Linked DNA regions of Homo sapiens: region 1 is linked to region 2. Evidence: promoter capture Hi-C in 16 types of primary human blood cells and fetal thymus (Javierre and others, 2016). All regions are on one chromosome and are shown on one strand. The core of a region is centred on a gene start or on the middle of the fragment in contact, and the rest is flanking DNA. Distances in the headings are between cores, read along the strand shown.

Region 1 (6,548 bases), core at 4,035-6,534, 900 kb before region 2:
AGCGTCTCACTCTGTCACCCAGGCTGGAGTGCAGTGGCACCATCTTGACTCACTGCAACCTCCACCTCCTGGGTGCATGGAATCTTCCCACCTCAGCCTCCTGAGTAGCTGGGACTACAGGTGCATGCCACCACACCCGGCCAATTTTTGTATCTTTTTTGGTAGAGATGGGGTTTCGCCATGTTGGCCAGGCTGGTCTTGAACTCCTAGCCTCAAGTGATCCTCCCATCTCTGCCTCCCAAAGTGCTGGGATTACAGGTATGAGTCATGGCGCCCAGTCCCATTCCCTTCTCTGCTTTGTCTTCTCCATGGTATTTATCACCATTGCACACACACTACACACTTTATCTTGCTTCTTGTTTCTTTCACCACTAGAATGGAAGCTCTATATGGGGAGGAAATTTGGTCTGTTTTATCGACCAACGTATGTTGGTTAATTGCACCCGGCACACAGTAAGTAGTCAAGGAACACTGGTTTAATGAACAGAGGTGGAGGAGATGGAAGCATCAGGCTTTGGGTGCTCCGCAGAGCTGGGATGCAAACGCAGCTATCTGGCTCAAGAGCCTGAATTGCGGTGCTTTGAGGCAGGACAGTAAAGGCACCATCACACCAGTTGAAAACCTTTGACCGGCAATTCCTTCCACGGACAACTGCTGACAAGTGACCAGTGGGGATGGACACCACCATGGCATTTGCAGAGTTGAAAATGGAAAATGACATCTGTGTCCTCTACTAGGGACTGGTTAAATAACTGATGACATCCACATATGTTGGAATCCCTTCCCTGCCCTTTGGGAGGCCCAGGTGAGATGACTGCTTGAGTACAGGAGTTCAAGACCAGCCTGGGCAACATAGTGAGATCCTGTCTCTATTCTTTGAATTTTTTTTTTAAAGTGGTGGAATCCCAGCAACACTAAAAAAGGGGCCAGGTTAGCCAGGCGTGGTGGTGTGTGCCTGTAGTCCCAGCTATCTGGGAGGCTGAAGCTGGAGGATCGCTTGAGCCCAGGAATTCAAGGCTGCAGTGAGCTGTGATTGTGCCACGGCACTACAGCCTGAGCAACAGAGTGAGGCCCTGCCTCAAAAAAAAAAAAAAAAAAAAAAAAGCAGGAGAGCTGGGGGTGCTCTGAAATGCATAATATGATTGATGGATGAATAGAGGGACTGAAGGAATCACAGAAACGTGATAAAGCAAGCACAGTAAAATGTTAGCAGGGGAATCCACGTGGTGGAATCTTAAGTGTTCACTGGAAAATTCCTATGATTTTTCTGTATGTTTGACAGTCTTCCTAATACAACGTGGGGGAAAATGGAGTTGTGGATCTATGTGCTTTGACATGGAAAGGTATTCACAAGACAGACGAAAAGGTTCAAAATTATATGTACAGCATAATTCCAGTCTTTGTTTAGAAACAGAGAGAAAAAAGACAGGATGTATAATAAGGGGTCACTGGGTATTTCTGGAGGTGGCTGGGTACACTTGAACTATAGGCACTACTTTCTTCTTTTTGCTCATAACTAAATTGTTTGATATTTCTACAGTGGACACAAGTTATTTTTGTAATAAGGAAAAAGACCTAAGGCTGGGCGAGGTGGCTCACGCCTGTAATCCCAGCACTTTAGGAGGCTGAGGTGGGTTGATTGCTTGAGCCCAGGAGTTGCAGACCAGCCTGGGCAATGTGGCAAAACCCTGTCTCTGCAAAAAAAATACAACAAAATTAGCTGAGTGTGGTGGCGTGTGCCTGTAGTCCCAGCTACTCAGGAGGCTGAGGTGGGAGGATCACCTGAGCCCAGGGAGGTCCAGGCTGCAGTGAGCTATGATCACGCCACTGCACTCCAGCCTCGGCAACAGAGCCCCTTCTTTAAAAAAAAAGGGCGGTTCAGTAAAATTATGTAATTTATGTAAAATTATGTATTATAAAATTATGTATTATCTCTTTGCCTTTTTCTTACCTTGCTCTTGATCTCAGCCTCAGTGTGAATCTGGGGAAATCTTATTGCTGTGAGCCTCAACTTTCTCATCTAGACAATGGGGATATATAGTACTTGCTCCATCCAGAGATAACCAAGTAGGTTACACAAGGTGACGGTGAGGTGGTTACAGTCTAGAGTGGGGGTGTCCAATCTTTTGGCTTCCCCGGGCCACATTGGAAGAAGAAGAACTGTCCTGGGCCATACATAAAATACACTAACACTAACAATAGCTAATGAGCTAAAAAAATTCGCAAAAAAAAAGTCTCATAATGTTTTAAGAAAGTTTACAAATGATGTGGCCTGCAGGTTAGACAAGCTTGGCCAAGAGGCGGAGGACCAGCTTTGGAGCCGAGCGCTGATTCAAGGGCCGCTTCTGCCCTCTCGTGGCTGGTCTTTAACCTGGGCAGGGCAACAGCTGCTGACTGTGCACAGCATGGGGTCACATGGGATTCGGGGGAAGTACCGGGCACAGAGCAGGCACACCCCAAAAAGCAGGTGCATCCACCAGCCAGGATTCAACCACCTGCTAAACGCCTCAACCGCAAAACAGAGATGTCAAAACAGAGATGCCCCCCACTGGGGGCCCGAAGTCAACCTCCTCTTTTTCTCTTTTCTGAATCTCCCTCCTCTCTTAGACCAGGAGTCCAGGCCCCAGTCTGTCCTGCCTCAGACCCAGGGGTCCAGGCTCCCAGCTTCTCCTCCCTCAGACCCAGGGGTCCAGACCCCCCAGCCCCTCCTCCCTCAGACCCAGGGGTCCAGGCCCAGCCCCTCCTCTCTCAGTCCCAGGGGTCCAGACCCCCAGCCCCTCTTCCCTCAGACCCAGGAGTCCGGGCTCCCAGCCTCTCGTCCCTCAGACCCAGGGGTCCGGGCCCCCAGCCCCTTCTCCCTCAGTCCCAGGAGTCCAGGCCCCCAGCCCCTCCTCCCTCAGTGCTAGAAATCCAGACCCCCAGCCCCTCCTCCCTGAGACCCAGGACTCACGTGCTCCAATTATAGCCTGTGGGCTCTGGGTTGCTGCGAGCATCGCAGGTCAGGGTGGCCTCATTCTGGCCAAGGTACCAGTTGTTATCATAGCCAGAGATGGATACCTCTGGGGGGTCTGCAGGAAATGGATACAGAGGTTCAGAGACTGGGAGGCTTTGGGGGGCCTGGGGCTACGCGGGATTCACGACACTGCAGGAAAAGGCCCGGGGATATTTGGAAAACAGCGGGAGCTGGAGAGGCCTAGGAGGAGTCTAGGTAGATGGGGTGCCACAGAGAGCAGAAGCCTAGGAGTCCTTGGTCAGTGGGGACATGGAGAAGGCTTCTGAGGAGCTGCTTTTCTCCACTAGCTTTCCTGGGTAGCCTGGACCAGGCATGTCTTGGGTGTCCTGCAGGAAAATGCCTCCTCCTTTTCTCACTCATAGGCAATGACCACTCACAACACACAGCAGTGTATTCAAGGTTCTGACAAGTCCTGCAGGAAAGAGTCCCAGATAACCCTGCTCTAGGCTGCTGCTCAGCCATCCCATACGTGATTGACAGCGAAGACCTTTCAATGTCCTTGGGGGCAGGCCAATGGGACAGGGTTTTATTCGGGGGCGAGGGGTAGGAGTCAGTGTAGATCTCCTCCTCGCTCAGACCCAGTGACAGTGTTGAGGGACTCCAGTATAGACAGTACCTGAGGGAATCTGTGTACCAATTGCCTGGCGGGGAGTAAGCAGTATAGACAATGGTGGGAGGAACAGTATGAATGATGTCTAGAAGAGCTTGTGTGGATATTACTGATGGGTTCAGTGTAGACAGGGTGTTGGAATATTACAGCAGATGCTATATTGTCGGGCCAGTGTTGAAAATGTGGTGGTGGGGGTGAGATCACCCCCACATATACAGTGTGTCCCCGGGAGCTGACGAAATTAAGACAGGCTCTGTGTATGTGTGTAGACAGTATTTGGATGAGCCAGTGTAGATGATGTGGGAGCTTAGTCTAGATCTGTGCTGTCCAATATGGCACCTACTGGCCACATGTGACTACTGAGCACTCGAAATATAGCCAGGCCGAAATACACACCAGATTTCAAAGGCTTTACTAGGACAAAATAAATGGGAAAGATCTCAAGAATAATTTTAAAAAAACAATTACAAGTTGAAATAATATTTTAGGTATATTGGGTTAAGTAAAGGCAATTATTAAAAATTAATTTTGGCCAGGCACAGTGGCTCATGCCTGTAATCCCAGTACCTTGGGAGGTTGAGGCAGGAGGATCACTTGAGCCCAGGAGTTTGAGACCAGCCTGGGCAACATAGGGAGATCCTGTCTCCAGAAAAAATAAAAATAGGCCGGGTGCGGTGGCTCACGTCTGTAATCCCAGCAATTTGGGAGGCCAAGGTGGGTGGATCACGAGGTCAGGAGTTTGAGACCAGCCTGGCCAACATGGTGAAATCCCGTCTCTACCACAAATACAAAAATTAGCTGGGCACTGTGGCCAGGGCTTGTAATCCCAGCTACTCGGGAGGCTGAGGCAGGAGAATCACTTGAACCCGAGAGGCGGAGGCTGCAGTGAGTTGAGATCGTGCCACTGCACTCTAGCCTGGGTGACAGAGCAAGACTTCATCACAAAACAAAAAAACAAAAACAAAAACAAAAACAAAAATTAGCTAGGCATGGTGTCACACGCCTGTAGTCCCAGCTACTCAGGAGACTGAGGCTGAGGTGGGAGGATCACTTAAGCCCAGGAGGTTGAGGCTGCAGGGAGCTGTGCCACTGCACTCCAGTCTGGGTGACAGAGTAAGACCCCGTCTCAAATAAATAAATAGATAAATAAATAAACAAATAAATTTCATCTCTTTCTTTTCTTGTTTTTGAGATGGAGTTTTGCTCTGCTGCCCAGGCTGGAGTGCAATGGCGTAATCTCGCTCATTGCAATCTCCGCCTCCCAGGTTCAAGTGATTCTCCTGCCTCAGTCTCCCGAGTAGCTGGGATTACAGGCACCCGCCACCGTGCCTGGCTAATTTTTGTATTTTTTAGTGAAGACAGAGTTTCACCACATTGATCAGGCTGGTCTTGAATGCCTGACCTCAGGTGATCCACCTGCCTCGGCCTCCCAAAGTGCTGGGATTACAGGCGTGAGCCACCGTGCCTGGCCTCTTTCTTTTAATTTTTTAATGGGGTGGCCGCTGGAGAATTTAAAATCCTATATGCAGCTTGCATGCTATTTCTGTTAGACAGCACTGGTTAGAGAGTCCTGGGGCTGTCAGTGGAGATAAATGTGTGGGTGTCAATGTCGATGATGCCATGAGGGAGCTGGTGGAGGTAACGCTGTGCAGGAGAATCAGGACAGATGCTGTCAGGGGGCTGTGCAGACAGAACACAAGGAGGCCAGTGTGGTGATGTGGGGTGAGACTGGATAGCCTGTAGATGAGCCAGTGTAGACAATATTGGGCAGAGGAACATGGAGACTACACTGGGGGACTCTGCAGACACTGCTTAGGGGAGCCAGCACAAACAATGTGAGAAGATCAATGCAACTAGCACCCGGCGGAGACAGTTGATCGTGGCTCAGGGGAACTGGTCGATACAATGTGGGAGGTGAATGCAGACAGTTCTCCAGGGAGTCAGTGTAGACAGTGTCAGGGGGCACTTTAGAGAGTGCCTAGGAGAACCAGTGTAGAAAAAGTGGGGTGTTTACATAGACAGTGGTCATAGGAGCCAGTGTAGACACTATGGGAGACAGTGAAAACACCCCACAGCTGGTGGCCAAAATAGGTGGTGTAGACAATGGGGTTAGTGCTGTCTGTGGCCCAGGAGAGCCAGTGTAGACAATGGTAAGGCAGTGTAGAAAATGGACAAGGGGCCAGGTGCAGTGGCTCACGCCTGTAATCTCAGCACTTCGGGAGACTGAGGCGGGAGGATCACTTAAGCCTAGGAGTTTGAGACCAGCCTGGGCAACACAGCAAAACTCTCTCTAGAAAAAAACTGTAAAATTAGCCGGGCATGGTGGCTGCACCTGTAGTCCCAGTTACTTGGGAGGCTGAGGGAGAAGGATTGCTTGAGCCTGGAAGGGTGAGGCTGTAGGAACCATGATCATGCCCCTACACTCCAGCCTGGGTGACAGAGCGAGACCCTGTCCAAAGGAAAAACAAAACAAAACAAAAAGCCGGGCACAGTGGCTCATGCCTATAATTCCAGCATACTTTGGGAGGCTGAGGCAGGCCGATCACCTGAGGTCAGGAGTTCGAAACCAGCCTGGCCAACATGATGAAACCCTGTCTCTACTAAAAATACAAAAATTAGCCAGGTGTGGTGGTGTGCACCTTTAATCCCAGCTATTTGGGAGGCTGAGGTAGGAGAACCACCTGAATTTGGGAGGCAGAGGTTACAGTGAGCCGAGAACATGCCACTGTACTGCAGCCTGGGTAACAGAGTGAGACTCTATTTCAAAAAAAAAAAAAAAAAAAGGAAAGAAAGAAAAGGACAAGGGAGTGGGTGTAGACAATAAGGGAGGCAGTGTTGATCGTGGCCAGAAGAACCAGTGTAGCAATGTGGGGAGGGTCATTGTGGATACTTGCCTGGGGAAATGGGTGTAGGCAGTTTAGGGGC
Region 2 (5,840 bases), core at 3,250-5,749:
ACATTAATTGGAACAAGCCGGTGCTTGTTTGTAGCCCTGCAATGGCTTTGTTACATTTGGAAGTAAATTCCAAATGCTTACCATGGCCTGTAAGACTTTATGTAAACTGGCCCTGTCTACAGCTCCGTCTCTAAATAATCCTGCCCTTCTTTCCCTCCCTTGCTCTGTTTCAGCCACTCTGGCCACCTTGACCATCCTTGGACAGCCAGGCCCACTCCCACTTTGGGGTCTTTTACTGGCCGTTCTTCAGCATCTTTAGATGGCTCATTTCCTGACCTTCCTTAACTGCATTCAGGCCTCTGATCAAATGTCATCCCCTCAAAGCGGCCTTCCCTGGCCACCTGTCACTCTCTGTGACCTCTATCACTGTCAATTCCTGTAACCTGACTTTTTTTTTTTTTTTTGAGACAGAGTCTCGCTCTGTTGCCCAGGCTGGAGTGCAGTGGTGCGATCTTGGCTCACTGCAAGCTCCGCCTCCCAGGTTCATGTCATTCTCCTGCCTCAGCCTCCGGAGTAGCTGGGACTACAGGCGCCCGCCACCACGCTTGGCTAATTTTTTGTATTTTTAGTAGAGACGGGGTTTCACCATGTTAGCCAGGATGGTCTCGATCTCCTGACCTTATGATCTGCCCGCCTCGGCCTCCCAAAGTGCTGGGATTACAGGCGTGAGCCACTGCGCCCGGCACCTGACTTTATTTTTAATTGAAAAATAAAAATTGTATATATTTATGGTGTACAACATGTTTTGTATATTTATACATTGTACAATGGCTAAATCAAGCTAATTAACATATGCATTATTTCACATATTTATCATTTTTGTGGTGAGGACACTGAAAATTTATCCTCTTAGCAATTTTCAAGTATACATTGTTACTAACTATAGTTACCATGTTGTGGACTGGATCTCTTGAATTTATTCCTCCTGTCTAAATGAAATTTTGTATCCTTTGCAATGTCTTCCCAATCCTCACCCCCGATTTTCTTTTCTTCCAAGCATCCTTTATCTGATGTCATCTGCCCCACTAGAATATCTGCTCCCAAAGGGCAGGTGCTTTTCCTATTCATTACAGGATCTCCAGCCTACAGCTGTGCCTGGCAGATGACTAGAGTTCCATAATTCATTCAACATATAAATGAAAGAAATGAACAAAAAGTGAAAAAGAGATGAACAGGGCCAGGCGCAGTGGCTCACACCTGTAGTCCCAGCACTTTGGGAAGCTGAGGTGGAAGGATTGATTGAGGCCAGCCTCGGCAACATGGTGAAACTCTGTCTCTACAAGAAATACAAAAATTAGCCGGGTGTGGTGGCACATGCCTGTAGTCTCAGCTACTCGGGAGGCTGAGACAGGAGAATTGCTTGAACCTGGGAAGCTGAGGCTGCAGTGAGCTATGATCATGCCACTGTACTCCAGCCTGGGTGACAGAGGGAGACCCTGTCTCAAAAACAAAAAATAAAGACATGAACAGATCATTTGGCAATGGCTCTCAAAATTCCCAATGTGCATACCCTTTGACCCAGCAATTCTACTTGCACTTCAAATGAGATAGTCTACTGACAATACTAACATATACATGCAGCCACGTGTACCAGGATATTAACTGTAGCATAATCTCAGCACTTTGGGAGGCTGAGGCAGGAGGACTGCTTGAGCCAGGAGTTTGAGACAGCCTGGGCAACATAGTGAAACCCCGTCTCTACAAAAAATAGAAAATTAGCTGGGTGTGGTAGCACATGCCTGTGGTCCCAGCTACTCCTCAGGCTGAGGTGGGAGGATTGCTTAAGCCCAGGAGGTTGAGGCTGCAGTGAGCCACAACTGTATTACATGACTCCAGCCTGGGCGAGACAGCAAGAACATGTCTGAAAAAGAAAAAATTAGAAAACAGAAACATACACACAAACCCCTGCAGTAAATGTTTGTAAGAGCAGAAGTTCAGCAACAGTCTAAATGCTCATCAACAGAGAAAGTGTTAAAGTATGATATATCTCCAGAACAGCATACCATGCCACTAATACAAAAGGCAGCTCACTGGGTGCCTGACTGTACTGCTGACTCATCACCAGGCTGGCTCCCCGGTGCCAGGGAAAAAGTGTAGGCTTGCTCTGGAGTGAGACAGGCTTGGGTTTGAATCCAGGCCCGGGTTTGAATCCAGGCCCTGCTGCTTCCTGCCTATGGGGACTTCGGTAAGGCCCTTCTCTCTTCCAGGCTCATTTGTCTACATCTGTTTTTTTTTTTTTTTTTTTTTTTTTTTGAGACAGAGCCTTACTCTGTCACCCAGGCTGGAGTGCAGTGGTGCGATATCAGCTCACTGCAACCTCCACCTCCTGGGTTCAAGTGATTCTCGTGCCTCGGCCTCCCGAGCAGCTGGCATTACAGGCGCATGCCACCACACCCGGCTAATTTTTGTACTTTTAGTAGAGATGGGGTTTCGCTATGTTGGCCAGGCTGGTCTTGAACTCCTGACCTCAGGTGATCTGCCTGCCTCGGCCTCCCAAAGTGCTGAGATTACAAGCGTGAGTCACTGCGCGGACCAACATCTGTTAAACAAATTAGGGGAGAAGATTATAGTGATGTATATAAAGCAGAGAGCACACAGCCTGGTACACAGTGGGTCCAAGGTCAATGCCAGGCCTCCTCTTTCCCTCTTTTAAGAAAATTCTACCTCTGAGGGTTGCCCTGACGTGAAACTGGCAATCGTGAGTGATCTGGGGTTGAGAAATTCAGATATGGCCTGAGCTGAAGAAGTAAAATTGGACACTGATAGACATAATACAGAGATGGCCTGTCATGTGTATCTTTATCAAACACCCAGAATCTTTCCCCAGAATCCATCAACAGTGGACTCAAGTCATTCTGGGTGACTGGTGTTTCTACCTGTGGCAGCCTGGAGAGGTGGCTCCACCTGGTACTGGTACTGGGACAATGACAGTAGGGATGAGGCCTGGAGGGGAGAGGGCTGCTCAGAATCTACAACTATCAGCATGGTAGACCACAAAATAATACACAGAGACAACACACAGTACCATTAGGCAACAGGCACTGTTCTATGCACTCTCACCCATTTAATGCTGGCGGCAATGTTGTAAGTAAGGTTATACCACACCCAATTCACAAACAGGGACGTAGAAGTAGAGAGTATTAAGTCACTTGGTCAAGCTCAGCCGCTATTTATATGAACTCAACACATGCTCTTAACTCCAATGCTTTATTATAACAGCAGCTCCAGAAGGAAACCGGGAACCAGTGCTTTAGGAAAGGAAAATGGGAACCAGAGGTGGAAACTTACTTTTATTGTATACAGCCAGAGAGGTTTGAATTGTGTATGTACATGTAATACCTGTTCAAATATAATTTTAAAAAACTTTTTTTTAGACCAGCCACGGTGGCTCACGCCTGTCATCCTAGCACTTTAGGAGGCCGAGGCGGGCGGATCACTTGAGGTCAGGAGTTCGAGACCAGCCTGGCCAACATGGCAAAACCCAGTCTCTACTAAAAATACAAAAAATTAGCCAGGCGTGGTGGACGCCTGTAATCCCAGCTATTTGGGAGGCTGAGGCAGGAGAATCGCTTGAATTTCAGGAGGTGGAGACGGCAGTGATCCGAGATCTCGCCACTGCACGCCAGCCTGGGTGACAGGGCGAGACTCCGTCTCTAAATAAATAAATAAAATAAAAATAAATAAAATTTCAAATAAAAAGCTAGAACCTTCCCATCCACCCACTCTGCCCACTGGGGAACTGCCGACCCTTCCGAATGCGCATGCGCTCTCCAGGCCGCGCCCGTCGCCCAATGTTCCTCTTTGGCGCGCGCAAGACTCCGCCCACGTGTGTTTAAATTTTCGACCCTGGAGCGGATTCCCTTCTCCAACGCGGCCTTCGAGGGTTTTAAACATAGTTCTGTCTCAGACTATTCTGCATCTCCCAGGCCTTAAGGATAAAACTGACACTGGAGACCCTTCAGGGTCTGACCTGCCCATTCTGCTGCCTCACCTCCCACCCAGGTGGACCCTGAATCCAAGCCAGTCTAGACCTCTTCCCCCGGGGTCTTCGCCGCCTTTGCTTAGCTGTTCCCTGGAGTACCCTCGCCTGCCTGTCCTTCAAGGTCCAACCGGACCCGCGCCCTTTCCTAAGTGATTTGAGGCCCTGGCAGTCTCTCCACAGGCCGGGGTGTCTTCCAGGGCGCACGCCAAGTCTGATTCATTCATGTGTTCTTGGCACTCAGCCCAGAACAGTGAAATTCCTCCCTGTCGTCCCACCCCACTGCATCCCGCCAACATCACCGAAGAGGCACAACTCGAACCCCAGATCCGGGCCGCTCTCCCTCCTGCCGGCTCCTCGGCGTATCCATTTCCCTACTCATCTCCCCACCCTCAACCCCCCAACCGCGCGCACGCGCATTGAGTCAGAGCCGCGGCGTCCTCCCGCCTCCCGCTCCGGAACCCGCATGCGTGCTGAAGCCGACCGCCTCCATCCACGCACGCTCAGCCCGGCGAGCGCATTCAGTTCTCGAGCTCCAGCCCTCAGCGCATGCGCAGGACGAGTCGCCTGAGGGAACTGATCTCAGCTCGGGCCCGCGTTACATCCTCCTCCTCTTCTTCCTTCGGCCCAGCTTTCCTTAGGGGCTGCAACCCGGACGCCGAGGCCGGTTTCGGAGTGGGGAGTGCCCATTTTCTCTCCTTCCCACGTTCCTGGCCCCCAGACGCCATTTGCAGGCGGGTGGCTTGGGTCAGCCTCCCCGCCCCCACCCGACTCCCGTCACGGGAGAGCGCACACCGCGCCCCGAGAACCAATCAGCAGCCGCGTTAGGTAAGGGGGCCGCGAGCCCGCGCGAGGCTAGCGCACCGGCGGCGGGCGGGGCGCTCCGGCAGGCCCCGCCCCCGCCTTGGCCATTGAAAGGTCGCTGGGACGTCCGGCGGGGGTGCGGCACTGAGTAGGGGGCCGGCGACCGTCAATTCGATACTGGGTTGGCAGGAATGGGGGCGGGGGACGGAAATAACGTGTAAATGAGAAACTTATGCTCTGCGAGATCCAAGTACAGCCTGCAAACTGCCCGTCAAGTACTGGGGAGGCCGCCCCAATAACGTGTAACGAGAAACTTGAGTTGGGTTCCCCGAGGGAAGCTTTGTAAAGCAATGCCTAAATCCGGGGGAGGCTCCCTTCTAGAACCCCGTAGAGAGAAGTTTAAATCCTAGGGAGTCCTTAGGAAAATGTGCAAATCGACTACAGTTCTGGGCTGGGGAGTGCCCCACGAAGTGGGCTTACATACTCAGGAATCGGGAGAGTCTCCCCAAATATTTGCAAATAGTGAGGTTCTGGGAGATCCCCGAAGGGAGTGTGTGAAGCGATGCCTAAATACTGAGGAGACACTCCCCAAAAATATGTAAATTCGATTTGTTAATTTTCGGGAAGTCACCCTAGAAGTCCATCAGCAGACACTTAAATAGACCAGCTTTCCTAAGTTTGGGGGTAATCCCCAAAGGAGCCCGGAAACAGCATTGGAAGTCCCCAGCTTGCATGTGGGTGGGGTTTTTTTTTTTTTTCTTTGAGACAAGAGTCTCGCTCTGTCGCCCAGGCTGGAGTGCAGTGGCACGATCTCGGCTCACTGTATCCTCCACACCTGGTTTAGGTGGGCTTTTAAGTTCCAAGGAACTCCCCACATTCAGATACTGTGGAAGCTCCCAGAATAAAGGGCACAGGGAGGCCAGGTGCGGTGGCTTACCCGGGGAATCCGATCACTTTGGGAGACCGAGGCTGGCGAATCACTTGAGGCCAGGAGTTCGATACCAGCCTGGCCAACATGGCGAAACCCCGTCTCTACTGAAAATGCAAAACTTAGCCC

What was found. The method cuts DNA at HindIII sites, captures the fragments that hold promoters and counts their contacts. A CHiCAGO score of 5 or more calls a contact.
Region 1: a fragment that was not itself captured here is called in contact with the fragment with the promoter of SMG9 in region 2 in 1 of 17 cell types (fetal thymus); the score reaches 5.3 in fetal thymus.

Annotation. Positions count from the first base shown.
Region 1 is chr19:44,650,420-44,656,967 of GRCh38, reverse strand. PVR (PVR cell adhesion molecule) reads right to left here. Exons shown (of 8, transcript NM_006505.5): 4 at 2,951-3,068. It overlaps MIR4531 (microRNA 4531), which reads left to right and starts at 3,236; the gene lies at 3,236-3,282. RefSeq lists a silencer at 230-430 and an enhancer at 2,206-2,265. The HindIII fragment of the contact is 5,987 bases long and covers 2,291-6,548 here.
Region 2 is chr19:43,753,621-43,759,460 of GRCh38, reverse strand. It overlaps SMG9 (SMG9 nonsense mediated mRNA decay factor), which reads left to right and starts at 4,499. Exons shown (of 14, transcript NM_019108.4): 1 at 4,499-4,807. RefSeq lists a silencer at 4,719-5,078 and an enhancer at 5,309-5,568. The HindIII fragment of the contact is 6,293 bases long and covers 1-5,123 here.